Regions from separate parts of the Homo sapiens genome. Here region 2 is linked to region 1. Evidence: promoter capture Hi-C in human tissues and cell types (Jung and others, 2019). All regions are on one chromosome and are shown on one strand. The core of a region is centred on a gene start or on the middle of the fragment in contact, and the rest is flanking DNA. Distances in the headings are between cores, read along the strand shown. Region 1 holds the start of PRSS12 (serine protease 12). Region 2 overlaps PRSS12 (serine protease 12).

What was found. Contacts are between HindIII fragments. The study calls those that stand out against the background at their distance.
Region 2: a contact is called between a fragment that was not itself captured here and the fragment with the promoter of PRSS12 in region 1, in 2 of the 25 tissues and cell types used here (H1 embryonic stem cells and stomach).

The regions. Positions count from the first base shown.
Region 1 is chr4:118,350,596-118,356,427 of GRCh38, forward strand. PRSS12 (serine protease 12) reads right to left here and starts at 2,408. Exons shown (of 13, transcript NM_003619.4): 1 at 1,624-2,408. The coding sequence starts at 2,125. RefSeq lists an enhancer at 2,153-2,998 and silencers at 2,265-2,344, 2,375-2,634. The HindIII fragment of the contact is 10,666 bases long and covers 1-5,832 here.
Region 2 is chr4:118,310,390-118,316,221 of GRCh38, forward strand. It overlaps PRSS12 (serine protease 12), which reads right to left. Exons shown (of 13, transcript NM_003619.4): 6 at 5,793-5,832; 7 at 2,812-3,008. Among named protein-coding and RNA genes, the nearest start is that of SNORA24, 34 kb to the left of the region's middle. The HindIII fragment of the contact is 7,240 bases long and covers 1-5,832 here.

The DNA of each region.
Region 1 (5,832 bases), core at 1,158-3,657:
GCAGTATTTGGGATTTTGTCTGGTGAGAGTTAGCTAGGAACATAAAGGCATTCAAAAGATTTACATTTCTAGTCAACTGAAGAAGGTGAGGTGGCAGGAAATCCAAGGACAAGTTACTCTCCATGTCTGAAACATAAGGCTGAGTTATGTCAGAAAGAGAGCAACAGATCACTATCATTTTTTAACTTTAAATTACTTTTCTTGAGTCTGTGCTTATGTACTTAAAGAGAAGTTGTATATTCTCTCCTACACATTCATTCTCTAATAATTCTCTGCTCTTATCTATTTATAAAACTAAGAATAATATGAAGATGAAAAAAGTCAATGTTTGCTAAACCTAAGATTTTACTATAATCTCTTATGGTGAATAACGAGACAATGCTAGCACTCTTTGTTTGACATCACCTCAAATTTTTTATAGCTACATTGGCATTCTGTTCATGAAACACAAGTAAAGCGATGACTTCATTCCCGAGGATAAAGGATAATTGATCTTAACCTTCCTATCACTTTTCCTTAACTCAAAGCACTAATGCAATTGAAGGTACTGATAAATAAAATTTCTCCAGGAAATGAATGACATTGTGACAGATAACCTCCAAGTTACCTCCAAAAAGTACAAAGTACAATATGATTCAGAATCTCAATTCAGGAAACCCTTGCCCCACAGTGTGAATGGAAAGCTGCCAAAAATATTTTGTTGAAAAGAAATTCAAACTTTGAGGATATTTTTTCTTCCTCAGTTTTTAAACAAAAAAAAAAACCTAATTTCAACAAAATCCCAACAATTCAAAATGAAGCAATGTTCAAAGCTGGATTATTCATTTACATTAAATTTATTAGTGTGATGCTTTTATTACCACAAACCTAAAACATTTTGCCACCTTTATCTCCTGATGTTACCAACTAATCCTGATAAAACATATAAAGCTAAGTAATGGCTCTGGAAAACTGTGTATAACTATATTAAGTTGCTACTTCACCAAGATAGTAGTATTCCCATCTCTTTTCCCTTTCTTTTTTTCCAGTCACTGATGATACTTACCATACTGAGCTGGAGTATGTGAATATGGCTGATTTTGGCCACATAATTTTGCCATACTTTTTAAAACAGAGGTCAACAGCTAAATTAAGGCAAAATTTTACCACATTTTTAAAAATCGGAGTCTAAAGAATGGAGGGAAGGTTATTGATTGCCACGTTAATGTAACATTTCCCTTTCCAGAACAAGTAATTATGCCTCTTTAATGTAAATATGGTAACCCACTCAACGTAAGCTAATCTAGAGAACAGACGCCCAAAGCACACTGTCACCCAATACACGAGCGCACACACACACACAGTGGCCAGAGGACAGAGCAAATTCAGAAACCCAGAGCTCAGCACCTTGCATAGAACTGTCACCCCTGACAACCTTCACACAAGCACACCTGGCTGGCTTAGATTTGCAGCACCAGTATACCTTACTGGTAACCCAGCTGCAGCCCACCATCACAGCCCGCAAACGCAAGCCCACAACCCCACACACCCCGTCACTTTTTCCAAGAGACCTGTACGCCGGCCCCAAGCCTCACTGGCTCCGAGCCCGTCCGGAGTTTCCGCGGCCGCCCCGAGGCCACTAACCGTGTCTGCAGTCGCAGTAGCCCCAGTCCACCTTGCCACGGGCGTCTCCGTAGAAACACCAGGGTCTGCCCGCGCCGTCGGGGCTCCGACAAAAGTTGTGGCGCTGTCCTCGCAGCTGAGCCCAGCTCGCTGGGGGCGACCGCTCCAGGAAGGGTGGCACCTCCGCCCACCGCAGACACGGGGCGCCGAAGTCCGTCACGCTGACCCATGGCTCGCCGGCGGGGCAGCCCCAGGGGTGCGGCCGGGGCGTGTGCCCGGCCTGGAGGGCGTGCGGGCGCTGGGCAGGGAGCGCCCGCGGGGGGCGCGGGAAGCGCGGGAGAGGCGGCGGCGGACGCGTCCTCGGGGGCCGCTGCTGGGTGGGAAGGTAATAGGGGTAGTGCGGACCCGCAGGGGGCGAATGGCGGTGGCTGTGGTGGAGGGAATCATTGAGGACAGAATCAAAGCCGACCACTTCGGGGAGCGCCCCTAACATCAGGGCTAGCACGAAGCGGGCGAGCGTCATGGTGCCAGCGCTGCGGGGTCTGGTCCATGCTCCCCAGCTTCTCGGGCTTGGAGCGGAGAAGAGGAGGGGGCGGGGGCGGGGCTGCCGCGTCCCTCGAATCCCCCAGCCCCCTCCCGCCCCCGCACGCGGACCGCCCTCGCCTCCCCAACCTTGCCTCCCGCCGCTGGTGCCCTGCCGCGCCTCGGCTCCTGTCCCCTGGCGGCGGCCGCGGGTGGGGAAATCTGGAGCTCAGCCGAGCCCCGGCCGGCGGAGAGGACCGGAAAAGAGAAGGCGCGGACGCAGCGGGGAGCGGTTGGGCCTGAGCCCCAGGTAGCGGCGCAGGCACGAGCCCGGGAACTCTGCCCCCTGGGGGCGGGCGCCGGCCGCGCAAGCTGCTCCGGACCTACGCTCGGCCCCTGCCAGGCCCACCGCAGTCCGCCCGCACGGCACTGCCAGCTGCTGGGACCGAGCCCGAGGGTGCCCGCGCGGAGCACGGTCTTGGCTGCCCCTTGCCAGCATGCAGCACCAGCACAGCCCGGCGTTGGCGGCTCCCAAATCTGGCACCGGCCCCTGCCGTCATCTCTCCTCCAACCTCGTCGCCCCGTATCTTGCTTCCTCTGTTTTGAAATCTTTACCAAAGTATGGATGGATTTAGATGCAGCTCTTCCCTGACAACTCCCAGGATAAAAGTTATCAAAACCCACGAGGAATGTTAAAGCCATTTCACTGAACTATACGCTCTTCAAGGACAAGACCACGTTTTATTCAGCTTGATATCACCGTGCTTAACACCGTGCCCCAATAAACATTGGCTGAAATTAAAATCCTGAACCGACTCAGGGAAAGGAGCTTGAGCCTTTCTGCTTCCTGCCTCCCACTTTCCAGCCGGTGCCCTGGACAACACCAGTTGTTTGGTTATTATTGGGATTCAGTGAGGCTCTCTTAATACCAAATTTCCTCTCTAACCAGAGAAGACTTCATCCGTCCCGGTTTCCATCCTATCCAAAAAGTCCACCCCCCTAGCACCTGCCTCGTTTTTTGCAGGGCAAGGGACTTCTGTTAAGCCTATTCATTTGCCTCTCCAGAGACTCTGCCTGCTGACAATTTTGAAGCTTCACTGTTGGCTCGACCTCAGCTTAGTAGGGCCCTTTCAACACTCCTCGCCCCCCTCCCGCAGGCTCCAAAAAACTGTTGGCTTAGAATCTTAAAAAAAAAAAGTTACTGGAGCTGTATGTTTTAGTATTTTGCCTTTCAGTTGTTTCTGACTATGCTACCAAAGTTTGACAAGGAGAAGGAAGCCCGTAAAGAAGGCAACATTTTATTTTCTGGCATGGTCACGTTTCGTTGTGAAAAAGCAATGCTGTCTCATAATATAATGTACCCTGAAGAAAACTTGAACAAAATTCAAATGTTTATTGTTAAAACCTAGGTTTCAATTAGGAACTGAATTAATTCACTACTAGCTTTAAATAAGCCATCTTTAGCCGGGCGAGGTGGCTCACACCTGTAATCCCAGCAGTTTGGGACGCCCAGGCAGGCGGATCACATGAGGCCAGGAGTTCGAGAACAGCGTCGCCAACATGATGAAACCCGCCTTTACTAAAAATACAAAAAGCCGGGGGAGTGTTGGCGCACGCCTGTAATTCCAGCTACTTGGGAGGCTGAGCCAGGAAAATCGCTTGAACCTGGGAGCAGAGGTTGCAGTGAGCCGAGATCGTGCCACTGCACTCCAGCCTGGGCGACAGAGGGAGACGTTGTCTCAAGAAAAAAAAAAAAAATCCATCTTTAATTTTGTGGGTCGTTTTATTGTTTTTTGTTTCACTCCTATTAATGAAATATTTGATTTTACTTTAGAGAGAATTGGGTAAAAGAAATGATGTTAAGAGTCCAGGGATGTATTTGTCAAATCTTTATTCAAGTTGTTTTCATTCCAGTTGTTTTTACCCATTATTTTTTTACTAATACTTTTCTGGCTCCAAAAGCATAGTTAAATCTATACTTGTGGAAGACAATGAAAGATAAAATATATATCTGGAGTAGTCTATTTGTTCATTTTAGTGAGGGTTGGCAGAGCTCATCAATCACAGATTTTTGAAATAATAGGTGACAGTTCTATCAGGGGTCAGCCCTTTTTCTTTCTGACTAGCTTTTCCACCTTAGGCTACACACCTGATGGCCCAGGGAAGGCTCATTTTAGGACTGTGGGGAGGCTGCTTGGACCCTGCTCCCTCCCCTTCCCACATTGACCCCTACAATCATTGCTTCCATGCTTCCTGGGGGTCCAGAAGCAGACCCAATTTCCATGCATCTACATACCTTGCAGACAGGAAAATAATGAGAGAGAAGTGAATAAAACAGAAGACTGTTAGATCTGAGCTCCAGAGAGGAGCATGGCCTCAGGCAGTCTGGCCTCTCCTCCACTTCCCTGTACTCTGAGGCCACTTAACATTTAACAGACTATAAAATTGACATACACAAAGTGGAGTTACCCACAGAAAATTCCACGTCCGGATTTCATCATTTAAGTTTTAAAACATACTTTTCTTAGAAAATATAAGGGCATTTATGTAATTATGATTTGAGGGCCTTGGCTTGGGTTTTGCCTTCTATTTGACAGGAAAAGTGTGTCTTAAATAGCTCTCTTCTTGACATGTTAGTCCCCTCCTCTGCTAATATTTTCTCTTCCTCTCTTCTTTCATTTCTCCTTGCTGCTACCAACATACAGATGTTTAGAATTTCCAATTCCCAGTTCAATCTCTGAAATGCATTTCTCCCTCTTCTACCTGTCACATCACAGCGTGTGTGGAGTTGGGGGGAATTAAGAGTACAGGGATTTACAGGAAGAAATCTTTTCCTTCTACCTCTATTAAGGCGCTACTTAGTCAAAGCTCCCTCCCAGGATTTTCATCACCCTCTAGTATATGCCAAAGGAGAGGGGAGGCAATTCCATCTTGTTACAACTGTAAGAATCTTCGTCATGTGCAGTGGCTTAAGCCTATAATCCCAGCAGCTTGGGAGCCCGAGGTGGGAGGATTGCTTGAGCCCAGGAGTTCAATACCAGCCTGGGAAACATAGTGGGACTCCGTCTCTCTAAAAAAACATTTTTTAACTACAAGGAGGCTGAGGCAGAAGAATTGCTTGAGCTCAGGAGATTGAGGTTGCAGTGAGATGTGATCACGCCACTGCACTCCAGCTTGGATAGCAGAGTGAGACCCTGCCAAAAAAAAAAAAACAAAAACAAAAACAAAAAAAACTCCCACAGCTGATCCTCTGCTTTCCCTTCCTTTCAGCAGCAACAAAGGAACAAGGAAAGGGACAAAAAGAAACAAATGACATCTTGCAGGCACACCTCATCTCAACACTTGGAAGTCCCAGGGAGGCCCCCATAATGGGACTCTGTCACCTCCATCACCTCTGATTTCATCAATCCTCTGTCATTGATTTGGGACCCAAGAATTCAACTCTCCTTTGCCACACAGCCCTGTTCTGGTAGTGCCTAGATCCAGAACAACAACTGGAAACCTAGGGAAGTGAAGGGAAGAGTCTCCCTGCACACACAACGGCAGGGAGGGTGGGTAGTCTTGGGGGTGAGGGTGCGGTACACATACATCTGCATATCTGTGCTTTCCCACGGCAACTGTGTTATACATGAATATTTGGTTTTGTGGTAGTTTAGGGGATCATCTTACTTCACATAAGTGATGGGCTGAATAGCTCTTGTGTAGTTT
Region 2 (5,832 bases), core at 1,185-3,684, 40 kb before region 1:
TTTGTAAAAATAATGCATACAATATTTCTGAACCTAATTTTAGCCATTCATTCTACAAAATCATTAAATTCCTAATTCTTGAAGGGAAACTGGATGACAAAAGTCATGCCATCCATACGTTGTCACTATTAAGTTTGTGTTGTTACAGAAATAATAATACATAGCATGTTTTATTTCCAAAATCTTAAATATATAAAGTTTTTGGAAAAGCTAAACAATCATATTGGTATACAGTTATCTTTAATATATATCTCAAGCTTTCAGTAGTTTTCTTTGATTTTTCCTGTAACATAATACATTATTTTTATAAAATACTACTGTCTTTTAGAAAAAAGATAAATTCTAACATGCATACATACACAGCAAAAGCCTAATTTTAGGCCAGGCTCAGTGGCTCACACCTGTAATCCCAGCACTTTGGGAGGCCAAGGCAGGCAGATCACCTGAGGTCAGGAGTTTGGGGCCAGCCTGGCCAACATGGCAAAACTCCATCTGTACTAAAAATACAAATATTAGCTGGGTGTGGTGGCAGGCACCTGTAATCCCAGATACTTGGGAGGCTGAGGCAGGAGAATTGCTTGAATCCGGGAGGTGGAGGTTGCAGTGAGCCGAGATTGCGCCACTGCACTCCAGCCTGGGTGACAGAGTGAGACTCTGTCTCAATTAATTAATTAATTAATTAATTAAATTAAGCCTAATTTTATACTGTAAAATTGAGTAAGAGGCAACAACCTCACTGGGAAAGAAATCTTTGCCAGGACTTAATACTCTGAACTTTAGAATTAATGTAATATTAAAACGAGAAATCCATATTTTTACCATCCCAGAAATTTCTGCCAACTCACATAACTGTATTCTTACTAGAATTACTTTTACTAATCTAGAATACTGCTTTTGAGCATTTCACCTACCACAGACCCAAAAGAGTGTCTACAGGGCTATAACTAATTTTGAGAAGTTTCCCTTGACATATAAAGTTAAGGTCCAGAAATTAGCCTTCAAATAGCTGAAAACAGCAGTAGTCCAAGAGCTCATCATTGCAGTGCCAAAGAAGTAAAAAATCTCCATTGTTTCCTAAATGCTGTTATTTATATTGTTATCCTGTTATCTCCTCCTCTAAGCTTCCCTTTTAAATATATAGTAGTTTTTAATAGGTGGAAGTAATGATCTATGAATGAACAAATAGTAATATGATTCTATCCCAAAAGGATATTTGGCTCAGATATAATGTTCTTCAGACAAATGACTTTAGTTAATAGACACATTACTGAGATTAGAACCAAAGAGATTCATAATAGTGATCATATATTTTATTAATAATTATCACCCTCAGGTTTTTAAATTTTTTAAAAATACATCTAGAGTCCTAGAATTAAAAAGATTTTCAAGGGAACAGAAAAGATTAGTTATTCCAACCATATGATGTGTTTAACAACACAGGCCTACAGAGAACTCAGGTCACATAGTATTTCATCACTGGGAGCTCACAGAGCATATCTGCGTAGATCATCCCATGATTCCAACACCTGCTATCTGGGGCTGAGAGAATCCATCTCCAGCAAACAAATTCTATCTCCCTCAACCACATCCACCACATAATCCTGGGAGGATCACAAATCTTTCAAAAGAAGGGGCAAGGGAAAAGGAGAACAAAATGAAAAGAAAGAAAAATGGAAATATGGCCTGCAAGAGATGGAATAAAAACATGTATTTCAACTTGGTATAATGCTAGATTAATGCAGTGTCACCAAGCTCTCACAGTGTACAGTACAATGAGGAATCAGCCACAGACTCTGACAAATTTAAAGTATGTAATATGGTTAATACTCTGAGGTTCAAAAAGTTGTTACTTTATAACATGAAGATTTCAGCTTCACAGTCTCCAAACAGGAGAATACAAAGGAGTTGATTCAATCCAAGGTTAAAAGTAAAGACCACCTAAGGCTATTTTAACATCTATTCATACACATACACACACACACACACGCACACACATACACATACACACAGATAGATATATAATAAAGCTGTGATAGCATACAACAAAGTATTTTGAATATTTCCCTCTGTATTTTTCATTCATATATATTCTGCCCTCCTCATCAGACATTAAGAAATTTATCAAGAATGTTTAACTGCTATCTACTCTCAAGAGGATCTTTATCTATAATTATTTCAATACAGTTAGAGGAGCTAGTTACCTTTTATCCAAAAAGTCTAAAAAAATGTAAATGAAGAGTAACAGAGGTCCCTGATGGGTTTCTAAAATAACAAGTTACACTAGAAAGATGGGTGAGCTATTAACTTTAATTAATCCACTTAGAAGACCACTGAGACACTTAAAAGAGCAATGGATGGTTGGTGACCAACGAACGACAAGGCTTCAGGACTAGAGAAGAAATGAACCATGAGACAGGGAGAGGAGAATATTCTTATTTTAAATCCTATCCCAAATAGCTCACTAGAATTCAAGGTAAATGAAAATCAGAATAAGTGACCGAGGAGTAAGGGGAATAGATACTGCAGCTTCTTTATTCCATTTTTCAGATACAGATGATTGTAAACATTGTTAGTGAGGAACTTAATTTTCTAAGTAAAGAAAAACAATTTAGGGGTAGAAATTTCATAATGTTGGCGCACAGACTCAAAAGATTATTTTTCTCTGCATAAAAATTACTGAAAATTAGACAGTTATGGGAAATAGACCCCAAAAAAAGCCAAAGATGAGAAACACTTCATATTCAAGGCCAGTGGTTAGAGGTGCAATGGCTACTGAATGATGGAAACTTGAGAGCTGCAGCCAGTCCTCACCCAGAGAGAGCCTGTGTCCCTCGCCGCCAGGGTAGCAGGCAATGCTAACATCTTCGCGGTGGCTGCAGTCATGCCTTCCCCACTGTCGCCTGGAACACTGAAGAAATCTGGTTTCCTTTCCTGAGCAGCTGACGTCATCCAACCATATGGGCCCTGTGCTTTCTTCAAAATGGTTGGCAGATGCTTGTTTACCATATCTGTGACAATTGAATAAACACTGTGTATAGAACTTCTGTCTCTTGGTTCAGGGAACCACAAAACATTTAACACAAGCAACTTAGTTCAGTGACATGACTTCAGAGGATAAGTATCTGTTCTTTCTCCTACCTTGGGGACGCAGTTTAGAGCTATGTTCGCCCAGCCCATCACATGTTTTAATCACCTTAAAAATGTTCGATTATTTCAACGAATAACAAATGAAAAATTAATACTTTTTCCCCATTCATTCTTGTGTTTTGTCTACAAAACCAATCAGAGAGAATGCAAAGAGATCAATCTCAAATTCCTGACCATAGAAATTGTGACCAGAAAGTGAGAACACTTTTCTCATTTTGCTTCTGATGCTCCCTCTGAACTCATTTGATTTCAGCAGCTTCTCTTTGGTCTTCTTTCAAAATAAAAAGTGTGGATTAGTTCAGTGATTGCTCAAGCACTATACCTAATCCATGATTAAATTTAGATTTCAGCCCATCAAAATCAGAATTATAATATTCTTAGCTTTTCATAAGGTATACAAATTCAACTTTAAAATGTTTATCAATTATATTTGTGTTCCAATTGAGTGTATTTGTAACACTGCACTACAGAAACAAAACCTAAACGTATAATAAATATATATGCTGCAGAAATAGGAGAGATCTGAAAAATTTTTTAAATTAGAAATTAAGTCAATCTGCACCTTCTTTCATCCTCCCAATTTTATTTCCTTTTGTTCCATAAAATCCAAACCTCCAGAAATCACGGAGCTTAAAAATCTTTAAGACACCTTTCAGTTCTAACAGCCTACAAGATTCAACTCTTACTCATATAATAATTCCCTTACTTGATGTTTTTATTATTTCTGTACTAAGAATATGAAGAGATCTTTCTATCTGACATGAATTTTCTTCTTTTTTTATGCAAGTATTTATTAAATTTATTTGACAAAATGAATATTTTAATAAATTAAAACAATGAAAATTTTAATCATTCTATGGCTTCTCTTCCTTCTATTTTGCTGACTAATCAACCCTTGGCTAGAAAAGTAATAAGCCTAAATCGTATATTGCTCACTTTTAACTTATAGACCATTTTTTCACGAAATACATTAGATTATCATCTGTCCATAGCAACTACACAACAGATAACAGGAAGTCATTTTACTTTGGAATTGCATTTGTACAAAAAAACCCAAAGTTTACTTTTTCTCATTACAAAAGAATATTCTTTTTCAAAAATTCCTTTGTAAACTAGAAGCAAATGTAACACATGCTTTGACTACCTTCTAACACAATCATTTAGAGCTTTTTACACACATTATTGAGAACATTTTTAAAATAAATGTGAATACTCTGTGCATAGATTTGTGAAACAAAATAAAATATGAAGAAAAAAATCAGTGTTGTTTTCATTAATAAAAAAATATGAAAAATAGAAATAACAGGATTTATGAATCTCTCTAAATGTGAAAATAAATAGAAATGACATGATTTTATGAATCTCTCTAAATCTGTGAAAACAGAGTATAGTTGGCAGTCTGAGATTCACTTAAATATAAAGTGATATTTATTAACTAATTCTTATCAATTGTCAGCATATTGTATTTATTTGGCTGTCATATCATACCCTTTTACACAAAAATTACAGTAACTTCTCTGCCCAAGAAAAGACAAAATGGGGGAAATTATATGAATATTGTGTTTTCATGATAGCATTACTTATCACAGGAAAAATTAAGCTGACCTAATATTAAGTAAATTACAGTATGAAAATTCTGTGGATATTGTTTTCATTAAAAATTGTGAGTATGTAGCAATATAAGGTTAAAAATGTGGATAAAAATTACATGTCCATTACTAGAGCTGATATGAAGTTATCTACCCAAATTATAATGATAGCATAAGGATAAAAAATTATGGAGTTTTTTATTTTCATCATTTTCCAATGGTTTTACATTACTTTTATAAATTTTAAAATATATGTTTAACATGGCTTTGCCTAGCTTGAATGAAGCTATGTTTTTAAAGTGTAGTGAATATCTTCAGTCAGCTCTAATCAAGCTAAAATGAAACAATTTTGCCAGTTTTTTTAAGCATAAGACAATTACTTCAAGCATGACAGAGAAATATGGAAAACAAGAAAGAATAGGCATTCATAGCTTTCATTCAAATATTTAACTCAAAAGCATCATTTGCAGTTACTTCGACCAACTTAAGTCTTTACTCTGGAATGCATTATGTGTGTGACATAAAATACATGTCCCAAAGTGTGATACTCAGCTTTTAAGAGAGTGAGGTCAAAAGCAAGTTCTAAAGGTCATCTCCTAACAAGAGGGCTGTTTTTCTCAAATAAAAGTGATAATTATCATCACATTCTGAGAAAGGGAATAATGTAATACCAAAGCATTTGACACTAGACTTCTCTGCAATTTTAGACAATGATGTCAAAACTAAAAACATCCAATAGTAATGACGTGTCAGAATAAAAATGAGCATTCAAAGTCTTACTTGAATAGACACAAGGGGACTTAGAGGTCACCCCTGGCTTCAACTAATTATTCAAGAAGAGGGGTCATGGCAGGAAAGGTAAATGAAATAAACAGCAAGAGGTGGTTATTCATCATCTTAGAAAATGTCATTATTTTTCATTGTTGTACTTCCATACACAGGTAGGAGAGAACAGGTATTTTTATTATTATAAAAATTACAAGTAGGGATTAACATAATAAGACTTTTAACAATATAATCTGGCATTTAACTGCCTTTATAATTAATGAACCTTACTTAAATCCCAATTGTCGACAAACCACGTATGTATTCAGCT